Linked DNA regions of Homo sapiens: region 1 is linked to region 2. The links are contacts of gene promoters, found by promoter capture Hi-C in human tissues and cell types (Jung and others, 2019). All regions are on one chromosome and are shown on one strand. The core of a region is centred on a gene start or on the middle of the fragment in contact, and the rest is flanking DNA. Distances in the headings are between cores, read along the strand shown.

Evidence for each region. Contacts are between HindIII fragments. The study calls those that stand out against the background at their distance.
Region 1: a contact is called between a fragment that was not itself captured here and the fragment with the promoter of GSC2 in region 2, in 2 of the 25 tissues and cell types used here (H1 embryonic stem cells and IMR-90 fibroblasts).

What each region holds. Positions count from the first base shown.
Region 1 is chr22:19,326,597-19,332,277 of GRCh38, forward strand. It overlaps LOC105372859 (a long non-coding RNA gene), which reads left to right. Exons shown (of 6, transcript XR_938002.3): 2 at 1,802-1,977; 3 at 3,379-3,484; 4 at 4,958-5,086. It overlaps HIRA (histone cell cycle regulator), which reads right to left. Exons shown (of 25, transcript NM_003325.4): 25 at 4,102-4,960. The coding sequence ends at 4,844. Among named protein-coding and RNA genes, the nearest start is that of CLTCL1, 38 kb to the left of the region's middle. The HindIII fragment of the contact is 5,118 bases long and covers 1-3,844 here.
Region 2 is chr22:19,146,468-19,151,604 of GRCh38, forward strand. GSC2 (goosecoid homeobox 2) reads right to left here and starts at 3,825. Exons shown (of 3, transcript NM_005315.2): 1 at 3,558-3,825; 2 at 3,196-3,449; 3 at 526-2,628. The coding sequence starts at 3,816. The coding sequence ends at 2,524. RefSeq lists an enhancer at 2,777-3,276. The HindIII fragment of the contact is 19,488 bases long and covers 1-5,137 here.

The DNA of each region.
Region 1 (5,681 bases), core at 36-2,535, 180 kb after region 2:
CTAATAATGGCTGTGGTGATGGCTGCACATATGATGTGACTACACTGAAAATCATTAGATTGTAAATCGCATGCTGTTAACTATTTCAGTAAAGCCGTTTTTTTTTTTTTAAGCAAAACATGAGCCATCCTTTTCTTTTTTTTTGAGAGTCTCGCTCTGTTGCCCAGGCTGGAGTGCAATGGCATGGTCTCGGCGCACTGCAACCTCTGCCTCCTGGGTTCAAGTGATTCTCCTGCCTCAGCCTCCCAAGTAGCTGGGATTGCAGGTGCGTGCCGCCATGCCTGGCTAATTTTTTGTATTTTTAGTACAGACAGGGTTTCACCATTTTGGCCAGGCTGGTCTCGAACTCCTGACTTCAAGTAATCCGCCGGTCTTGGCCTCCCAAAGTGCTGGGATTGCAGGCGTGAGCCACTGTGCCTGGCCATAATCTTTTCTTTTTTGAGATGGAATCTTGCTCTGTCACCCAGGCTGGAGTCCAGTGGCACAATCTCAGCTCACTGCAACCTCTGCTTCCCAGGTTCAAGCGATTCTCCTGCCTCAGCCACCTGAGTAGCTAAGACTACAGGCACCTGCCATCACACCTGGCTAATTTTTTTTTTTTTTTTTTTTTTTTTGTAGTTTTAGTAGAGGCAGGGTTTCACCATGTTGGCCAGGCTGGTCTCGAACTCCTGGCCTCAAGTGATCCACCTGCCTTGGCCTCCTAAAAGTGCTGGGATTACAGGCGTGAGCCATTGCACCTGTCCTGAGCCATCCTCCTGAGGAAAACGTACTCCATCTTGAGAAAAACCAACAGACGTAGGAATAGAGTACCTAGGTTATAGAGCAAGTATATGTTTAATTCTATGAGGAACGATCACACTGTTTATCAAAGTAACTATTCTTCCTACCAGCAATGCATGAGAGTTCCAGTTGCTCCACATCCTCACTAATACACATTATTGTCTTTTTAAAAAATGTAAGCCATTCTAATAGATATGTGTTGTTACTGTTATTTCTTTTGCTGTACAGAAGCTTTTTAGTTTGTCTAATTTGTCTACTTTTTTGTTGTATTTGCTTTTGAGTCCTTAGTCATAAATTCTTTCTTTCTTTCTTTTTATTTTTTTATTTTTTTTGAGACAGAGTCTCACTCTTTCGCCCAGGCCGGAGTGCAGTGGCGCTATCTTGGCTCACTTCAAGCTCCGCCTCCCTGGTTCACGCCACTCTCCTGCCTCAGCCTCCCGAGTAGCTGGGACTACAGGCACCCACCACTGCGCCAGGCTAATTTTTTGTATTTTTAGTAGGGACGGGGTTTCACCGTGTTAGCCAGGATGGTCTAGATCTCCTGACCTCATGATCCGCCCGCCTCAGCCTCCCAAAGTGCTGGGATTACAGGCGTGAGCCACCGCGCCCAGCTTTTTAAATTTTTTTTGAGACAGTCTCGCACTGTCACCCAGGCTGAAGTGCAGTGACGCGATCTCAGCTCACTGCAACCTGTCTCCTGGGTTCAAGCGATTCTCATGCCTCAGCCTCCTGAGTAGCTGGAATTACAGGTGTGTACCACCATGACTGGCTAATTTTTTGTTTTTGAGGCGGAGTTTCACTCTTGTTGCCCAGGCTGGAATGCAGTGGTGCAATCTTGGCTCACTGCAACCTCTGCCTCCCAGGTTCAAGTGATTCTCCTGCCTCAGCCTCCCAAGTATCTGGGATGACAGCCATGTGCCACCATGCCTGGCTAATTTTGTATTTTAGTAGAGAGGAGGTTTTACTATGTTGGTCAGGAAACAGTGTGATCATTTTGGGTCTTGCTTTTATTTTTTGGTAGGTGGATCTGAAGCAGTGCTGCCTTAGTCTCCTTGGACTCTCAGCTCCATTTCCTCAGCTCAAGTAGTCCACTGGGCTCTACCTCAGTTCTGCCTCCTCTTGCTGTGGCCTAGAAATTCTCTCTGGATATCAGAAAACAAAGGACAGTAATCCCTGCCAAGATGGGATACAAACAAGGTGAGCCCCATGATTGCCCAAGCGTACTACCTGGAGTGTCTTCTTCTGTTTTTTTCTTTTTCTTTTTTTTCTTCAAGATGGGATCTTCCTGTGTTGCCCAGGCTGGAGTGCAGTGCCATGATCATGGCTAATTGCAGCCTTGAACTCCTGGCCTCAAATGGTCCTCCCACCTCAGCCTCCCATGTAGCTAGGTCTCCAAGCGCATGCTACTGTGCCCAGCATGGTATCCAGTGTCTTGAAACCACCATTGCATGTATTTTTGACGGGCTCCTTTGGTTGTTTCAGGTAGAAGGGTCAACCTGGTCCCTGTTACTCCATCTTGTCTGTAAGTTGAAGGCCTTGATGTTTTCTGCTTATCTCTTCATCATCTCCAAACGGTGGTGGTAAAGTCACTCACGACTGCTGTTTCCTTCAAGGGAGGAAACGTGCGAAGACTTTGCCCACACAATCTCAATTTGTCCTCATAACGTTGCAGATTTTTTTTTTTTTTTTTTTTTTTGAGACGGAGTCTTGCTCTGTTGCCGAGGCTGGAGTGCAGTGGCGCGATCTTGGCTCACTGCAACCTCTGCCTCCCGGGTTCAAGCAATTCTCCTGCCTCAGCCTCCCGAGTAGCTGGGATTACAGGTGTGTGCCACCACACCCAGCTAATTTTTGTATTTTTAGTAGAGACGGGGGTTTCATCATGTTGGTCAGGCTGGCTCGAACTCCTGACCTCGTGATCTGCCCACCTTGGCCTCCCAGAGTGCTGGGATTATAGGTGTGAGCCACTGTGCCCGACCCCAGTGCAGATTTTTTTAGTCTCAATCTCTATTTGACAGCTAAAAAACTGAGGCCCAGATGTTTGCTGGTTTGGAGCCCAGACAGGCCTGTTGGCATATATTGCTTCCTGGAGCTCCACAAAGCTCGCAATGTCTTGCTGCATAGTTGCTAAGGGAGCTGCCTCACCTGCACAGCAAGTCTCTGGCTCTTCATTCCTTAAGAGTCCCACTTGCAGCCTGGCTTTTTATGTGTACACACACACACACTCACACAAACTATCCTGGCTTTATTTGGCATGAACACATGCCTGGGTCTCATCCAGCCACTTGACATCCGAGTGAGACATGGAGTGGAATGGCTGCTAGGCCAGAGATCAGTGGTCAGTTACCCCGGCCTCTGACTCCAAGTCCAAGGCTCCTTCTCCAGGCTCAGACCCACACACTGGGTGGTGGTGACAAAGATCAGGACCCAGGAGTGGGTGGTACTCAGCCCTCACTGTGCTTAAAGATTCTGTGATTCTGTTTCTTCTCCTGTAGATCAACGTCTGGATCACTTTCTAATAAAATTCCAACTTTGCTGATAATTCTCCAATATACCCAAGACTGTAAATACTGATTTCCTTTCATGAAATTGTCCAAACAGCTGCAGCCCTTGGTGCACAGTATGATCTGGACCTGGGGCACAGCAAGACCAGAACCATGAACCACCATGAACCATGACTCCTCACTTGTGAGATGACGTGTGCAAGGTGACCTATGGTGCTTCATGACCACAGAAGTGACCACTCTACACTGTGAAATGAATTTCTGCATGGGGGGTATATTAGGGTTCTCTACAGGGACAGAACTAATAGATATATATGAAAGTTTATTAAGTATTAACTTACACAATCACAAGGTCCCACAATAGGCCATCTGCAAGCTGAGGAGCAAGGAGAGCCAGTTCGAGTCCCAAAATTGAAGAACTTGGGAGTCCGATGTTTGAGGGCAGGAAGCATCCAGCACGGGAGAAAGATGTAGGCTGGGAGGCTAAGCAAGTCTCATCTCTTCACATTTTTCTGCCTGCTTTATATTCGTTGGCAGCTGATTAGATGGTGCCCACCTGATTAAGAGTGGGTCTGCCTTCCCCAGCCTGACTCAAATGTTAATCTCCTTTGGCAACACCCTCACAGACACATCCAGGATCAATATTGCATCCTTCAATCCAATCAAGTTGACACGCAGTATTAACCATGACAGGGGGGAATGAGATGACACAAAGGATCCCTTCTGGCTCTCATGTTCTGTCACCATCTACTTCAGGAGAGAGATGCACTGTGTGGGGAGGATGAAAGTTAGAAGGAAAAGGCAAGAGAAATCAGGAGGGTTTGGTATTCAATGCGTGTTCATTTATTTTACACTTACAAAAGAAATCGCCCACCCCTTTGCCCCATTCCCCCAAAACAGTCTCTTTTTACAAACATTTAAAAATTAAAACCAAATGAAGATAGACAAGTTAATTTCAGTACAATTATTTTTCAGTGTAGCTGTCATAATTAGAGTTTAAATTTCCTACAAGTGACCAATGTCCAAGTGACTTATAGGGAAATCCTGATTATCGGCCAAAGGAAATTCAATATTACAAGTTAGCAAATTCTAGTACAAAAATAGTCCGTGTGTTGGAACAGCTTTCCTTTTACATAGGTCTTAGGTCAGTCTGCTGTAATACCTAACGCTTCCGGATTCTCTCTCACAAATGGCTCAATCGTCACTGCTGAAGCAGCATGGTGCCTGCAGCAGCAGGGGCTAGTGTCCACCTTGGGGCCGTGCTGGAGACGGCAGGCCTGGGACTGCCTTGCTGGCCCCAGGGCACCTGGGCAGAGCTCCAGCCCTAGCTCCGCATCGGGGGCTTGGAGGGAGGGATGAGCTTCCCCCTCCTGAGGCAATGTCAGACCCAGGACACAGGGCACATCTGCCCAGGGAGCTGGGCTGGCGCTGGTGCAGGACAGCACATCTCCTGCCAGTGTCTCCTCCCCCTACAGCCTGGTCAGGTGAGAGGCGGTCCTGCATGTCATCAGCGGCGAGAGTGTGGCCCTGCCCTTGCTGCAGCCAGGGCAGGCTGGGGCAGGCTACTTGTCCCTCAGGATGTCGAGCTGTTCCTGACACTCGGTGAAGAGGCGCTGGAATCGGAGGTTCTGCCCGATGACTGGTAGCAGCTCCTTCAGCAGCTCCCTCTTCCGCAGACCCTGTGGACACAGAGTGACAGCTGAGTGCAAGTGTCAGTGAAGAGACCTAGATTGTGGGGACTTTCCTGGCCTGGCAGAGAACCTTGTGTCTGCTCACGGGAGAAGGAAAGAACAATTCCTCTGCAGGTGAGAAACTGTGAGAGAGCTGTGGGGCAAATGTGCAGGATGAAGTGGCAGGTGGAATGGGAGCAACACAGTGTGGGGATAAAGGAGGATGAGGCCAATGCAGGGTCTGCTCCTCCATCCGTGGGCACAGCCACTGCTGACCTTATAGTGACTGAGCAGTTCCCTGACCATCCAGGGCAGGATGAGAGTAGAACAAGGCTGAGGGTCAGGTGGCTGGCCATTCAGGAGGGGCTGTTCCCTCATGCTGATGTTTGCCAGGGGTTTGAGGTCAAGCCCCAGGGCAAGGATGCACCTGGGGGGCAGTGACTGGCTTTAGTTTTCCAGCAACACAAATGAGGTGCCAGTATCCCCTGATGTGGAGGATGTTCGGATGCTGACCAAACTATGCTTAGTTGCCTAAACATCCTCCACGTCAGGTCATATTGGCACCACAGTCTGAAACAAGCATTGCCAGTTGGGGTCTCTGCTGCACAGACCAAAAGAGCAGACTCCTGAGCAGTACGGCTGCTCCAAAGGGAAAACTACCAGCCAGACAACTTTAACACTGGACGAGAAGGTCTAAGATCTTGAATTAACGGTGACAGATATACCTGCA
Region 2 (5,137 bases), core at 2,575-5,074:
AGTCCTTTGGAAATGCAGAGTGCAGTGAGGTGTGAGATGATGCCAGAGAGGCAGGGCCAGGCTGCACAGGGCCTTGTAGGGTATGGTGAGGTGGTTTGTCTTCATTCTGAATTGAAGGGGCAGGCCAGGCACAGTGGCTCATGCCTATAATCCCAGCACTTTGGAAGGCCTAGGCCGGCGGATAGTTTGAGGTCAGAAGTTTGAGACCAGCCTGGCCAACATGGCAAGACCTCATCTCTACAAAAAACTTTTCAAGTTAGTCGGGTGTGGTGGTGCCCACCTGTGGTCCTAGCTACTCAGAAGGCTGATGGGGGAGGATCGCTTGAGCCCAGGAGCTGGAGGCTATAGTGAGCCATGATTGCACCACTACACTCCAGCTTGGGTGATGGAGCGAGACCTTGTCTCAAACCAACCGACAAACAAAAAAGCAGAGCCAGTGTGGTGCAGGTGGACAAGATTAGAGACAGTTGCAGTGGTCAAGGTGAGAGGTGACGGTGGCTTACATCAGACTGGTGCAGTTAGAGCTGGAGAGATTCTGGGATTTATTGATTTATTGATAAACAGTAAAACTGACTTCCTGTCAGCCTGGGTATAGTGGATGATCAGGAGAGGGAGGGGTCCAGGGACCAGTTTCGGGTGGGCGGCTAGCTCTCTGGCTCATGTGCCTGGTTTGCACAGAAGAGCTCACTGTGGACAAGGTGACCTTAAGGAGTCTGTGGGCTTCAAGGGGACAGCTGGAGATAAATACCTGGCTCAGGGGAAGTGCCTGGCTTGAGATGTAAATGTGGCAGAAAGATGGGAATTGGAGTCTGAGGGTAAAAGATAAACCGGGAAGAGGGTGAAGATGAGAAGCGAGCGCCTGGGTGTGAGCGTGAAGGATGCCTATGTTAATAGCCTGCTGTGGGGGGTCAGCCTGCCAAGGAGCAGCTAGAGCTCAAGAAGCAAATTCAGGAGAGCAACACAGCCACTGAGCCCTGGAAGGTGGCGCTCCACAAGCTCTGATCGGGGCTCCCAAAACAATGACAGATGGCCATTCAACCAAGGAACTCAAGGGGCCTGGAGCCTGTGAGATGCGAGTGTCCCCAGCTGCAAGGGAGCTGACTGGGACACGGGCATGTCCACAGGTAGTCTGTTCAGTCCCCAAGGGCAAGACCAGGGTTCAGGGAGAAGGGCTTTGTGTGCATGCTAGGGGTGGAGGCGGGGATGCTAGGGACACCCAGCAGTGTCAGGGCAGTTCTGACTGGGGACACCATGCTTGCTTGGTGTTATCCAAGCTGGCCAGCCTTGGGGTGTCTGGGGAGCTGCAGCCCTGGCTTCTGCAGTCCTGCTTTTAGAGATGGACTTCATCTCTTGCAGGTAGAATGGCCCCATTCCCTGCAGGGCCTGTAAGGAGACAGAACGAGGTGCTCAAGCCAGCTGGGGGTGGGGATGTGAGATGCTTTGGACCCACTGTAGGGCCTACTTGGGGAATCTAAGGCTTCTTTCCACTGTGCCTTTTGCCATGGGCCAGGATAAAGAAGGGGAGGGCAGGCATCTTCCCAGGCAGCAGGGGCGGGGTCTCCCCAGTCCAACCTCCTCTTGCCCTACCCTAGGATGGCACAGATTGCTGTGAGGGAGTCCGAGCCCACAGCATGAAAACCCCAGGAGGAAGCAGGGGACCCTCACCCATGGGCAGGTTCACAGTAGCCTAGAGGCCAGGGCTGGACCCCAGGGGTCCAAGGCCACCATCCGTGGAGCAGTCCCCTCTGCTGGGGAGCACCCTGGTGCAGAGACTGAGGATCGCTGAGCTGTGCTCCTCTCAAAGACAGCTGTACCCTAAATACCCCCTCGCTGGGAAGGAAGAAGAAGGGACAGCTCCTTGTTGGGTGTGGGAGTGGAGCCAAGGTGGACTTGAGACTCTGGGCGGCTTCTGTGGTATTTGAAGTTGCTAGTTTCTCAGTATCAGCGCGAGGCTCGAAGGTGAAGGGACTGTGGAGGGGCTCCTGGAATCGCTCCTGCGACCTTCTTATTCTACAGGTCCAGATACCAAGACCCAGCCCAGGGCCTGGGAAGCCTGCAACGCCAGGACTGCACAGACACGAACCCCATCCCCTCTCCCGCTGGGGGAGGACGAGCCAGGTCAAGTTAGGTCAATGTCCACATTGAGAAGAGGGTGGCCAGCATGTCCCAGGGTGCGGAGAGACGCTCCACTGCGTAGGATTCTGGGTCCCGTGTTGATACGGGGTGGTTCCCCTCCTGCGGTGGAGTTAGTGTCTCTCGGGGGGTAGGGAGCTGAGGAAACTGCTCTATGCCCCAGCCCACCCCCAAGGGACTCGCCACTCCCACTGCCGTGGAACACCAAGCACCGGGGGCCCGTCCCCAGCGCCACGGCAGCACGAGCTGCAGGAGGCAAGGGCTGTGGAGACGGGTGGAGGCGGCCGGTGTACTCTCCCAGCTCCTTTTCGGGTAGACCTGTCTTCTCTCAGCGCCAACTCCAAAGATCCCAAAAAGGGTGGCCGAGCCCAGGGGCAGCTCCTAGAGTCATCAGCAGCTCCCCTTCGGGGACTTCTTGACGCCGGGCAGGAGCCTCGCGGAAGCCGACGCGCGCTTCTGGTGTCGCCATTTGGCCCGGCGGTTCTTGAACCAGACCTGGGGATGGGGGGAATGCTCAGCCCTAGCCCCAGGTCCTGCGTCCCACCGGCTCCCGAGGGTCCCACAGGGACCGAGAGGGGAGCTTCGCAACAGGGATGTGGGCGGACGGCGCTGTAGAGCCGACACCCGGGCCGCGGCTGCGCGCCACCTGCCCTTATTCGCTGCGGACAGACTCGGTGGGTCTGGACGCGAGATGGGAACCCCCTTAGTACCCGCCCCAGCCTCCAGCTGGCGGCGACCAGGACGCCCCTTCTTGGGTTGCGGGCTCTTCTGAATTTCCCAAATTCTGGACGTGAACGCGGGCCTCTTTCGTCACCAGAGGAAAGTGTAAAACAAAAGAAAAGAAAAGTAGCCCTCCGGTTCCTTTCCCGCGGCACCTCCCTGCTCTCACCCGCTCCTCATACCCCCGGACGCCCAGCGCCGTCCAGGGACCTCCTCCCTCCGGCGCGCCAGGGCGGGGCTTGGGCCGAGGCCGTCTTTGCAAAGGGCGCCCGCCCGCCAGGACCCCAGTCCAGTGTAGCCGCGGCCCGCGCGCTCCGGGGAAAGGCTGGGCGGGGCACTCACCTCCACGCGCTCCTCGCGAAGGCGGATGCGGCCGGCCAGGCGCTCGCGCGTACTCACGTCAGGATACTGGTTCTGCACGAAAAGCGCCTCGAGCGCCTGCAGCTGCTCTTCGCTGAAGATGGTGCGGTGGCGCCTCGTGCGCCGCTGCGAACCCGGGCCGACCGCGCCCGGGAGCGCCCCGGAACCTCCGGCTGGCGCACCCAGAGACAAGGGCACCGCCGGTCCCAGCCTCAGCGGCCACGCCAGACGAGCGCCTGCGGAGCGAGGGCGCGGTGAGGCGCGGGGCTGGGGCCAAGCTCGGCACCCACTGCGCCGCGCCCCGGGCTCCGCCGGGCCCCGCGCCCCGCTCCGCGCCCACTCACCCAGCCCGGCGGCCGCCTCTGGGGGCCCGCAGGGCGCCGCGCGGGGGCCGCAGCAGCAGCAGCAGGCGCAGGGCGCAGCCTCGGGCGCCCCGGGCTCCTCTGGCTTCGCGGGGCTCTGGCGACCGGCGGGCTGCGGTGGGCAGGCGGCCCGGGCCGGGAGGCTCCGCTCGGGCAGGCTGGAGAGGATGTGCTCGATGGAGAAGGGGCAGGGCCGCCCGGCACCCCGGCGGCTCGCCGCGCCCCCAGCCGCTGCCGCCATGCCCGGCCCGGCCGGGGCGCCGCCGCCGCGGGAATATATACGTCGGGGAGGGAGCGCGCAGTAATCCCCGGGCCGGGCGTCCAGTCCACGCGGGTTAATCCCGCAGCGCCGGCCGCGAACGCGCTAATCCTCGACTGCGGCGGCCCTGCCTCCGCGCGCGGGGGCCGGGGGCGCTGCAGAGAGGGCCCCCTGTGCCCCCCACCCCGCCCCGCGTCCTCCTGCCCCACCCGCGCCCGCCGCTCAAGCTGGCAGGGCGACCTGCGGGGAAGGGGCGGAGGGCCGCCTCGCCGCCGCCCGCGGGGCCTGGCAGCCGCTCGGAGGGCGCCCCGACCCTGGCAGCTCCCCAGAGCGCGGCGGTGCCTCCCGGCCCAGCCTCTGGTGGCTCCCCCTCGTTCGGCTGGGCCTAATTCCTCGTCCCCTCTGGGGCCCTACTGCGGCGGCTCAGCACGCCTGCAGAAGCTCGGCCTAGCCGCCCACCCGAAACTCCTGGACCGCAGCCTCCATGGGGCCCAGCACCACCGGCAACCGCACGATCCCGCCGCGCTCGGGTCCCGAACCTGCCCGCCACCTCGGAGCCAGGGTCTCATGGCCCTGGAGGGCGTGAGAGCGCGGCAGGAAGCCTGGGCTGCCGGGTGCCCCCAGTTCTCCGTCTCCTCACCTGTGTCAAGGAGACCTCCCCGCCCCTTCCGAGGCCCCTCCTCGGTGCTTCAGAGCCGCCTGTCCTCCAGCTTTCCCACTGGTCCCAGAATCCCCGCGAAAACATCCAACACTGCACCTCGCCCTTCCCCGCACTGTCACTGCCCCCCAGAAGCTGTGGGCTCCCCCTCCTCGCTCTCCGCCCAGGCCAGTCCTCTGGCCACACCGTCCTCGGTCCCTTCTGCCACAGCGCAGGTGACCCGCACTTGGCTACATTGTTTCACCCTCAGTGAAGCGGCTCCTGGCAGCGGGACCGTCACTTCAGCTTAAGACCCTTTCCTCTTGACCTTTGAAAATACAGTATGGGACTCATAGCACAGAGAAACAGACGGCCTGGCTCATACTCCGTTGTCAATTTCTGGCCGTGTGACCTCCATAGGCGTCTTCAGCCTCTGGGCTTGGCTTTCCCAATCTGTAAAGTGTAGTGACTAGGTGTGAGACGGTTAGAACCTGGCCGCCTCCCCAGGGCAATGCGTATTCCTGCGCTCCTCCCGCCGCCAGCCCCTCTGCAAGACTCTGCCATCCCCACTCTGCTATCAGTGAAAGTGCTGTGGACATCACTGTGACCGAACCTGCTGATTTAATTTCTGTCACAAGAGCTCCCACATAGGTTTCCCAGGGGTAG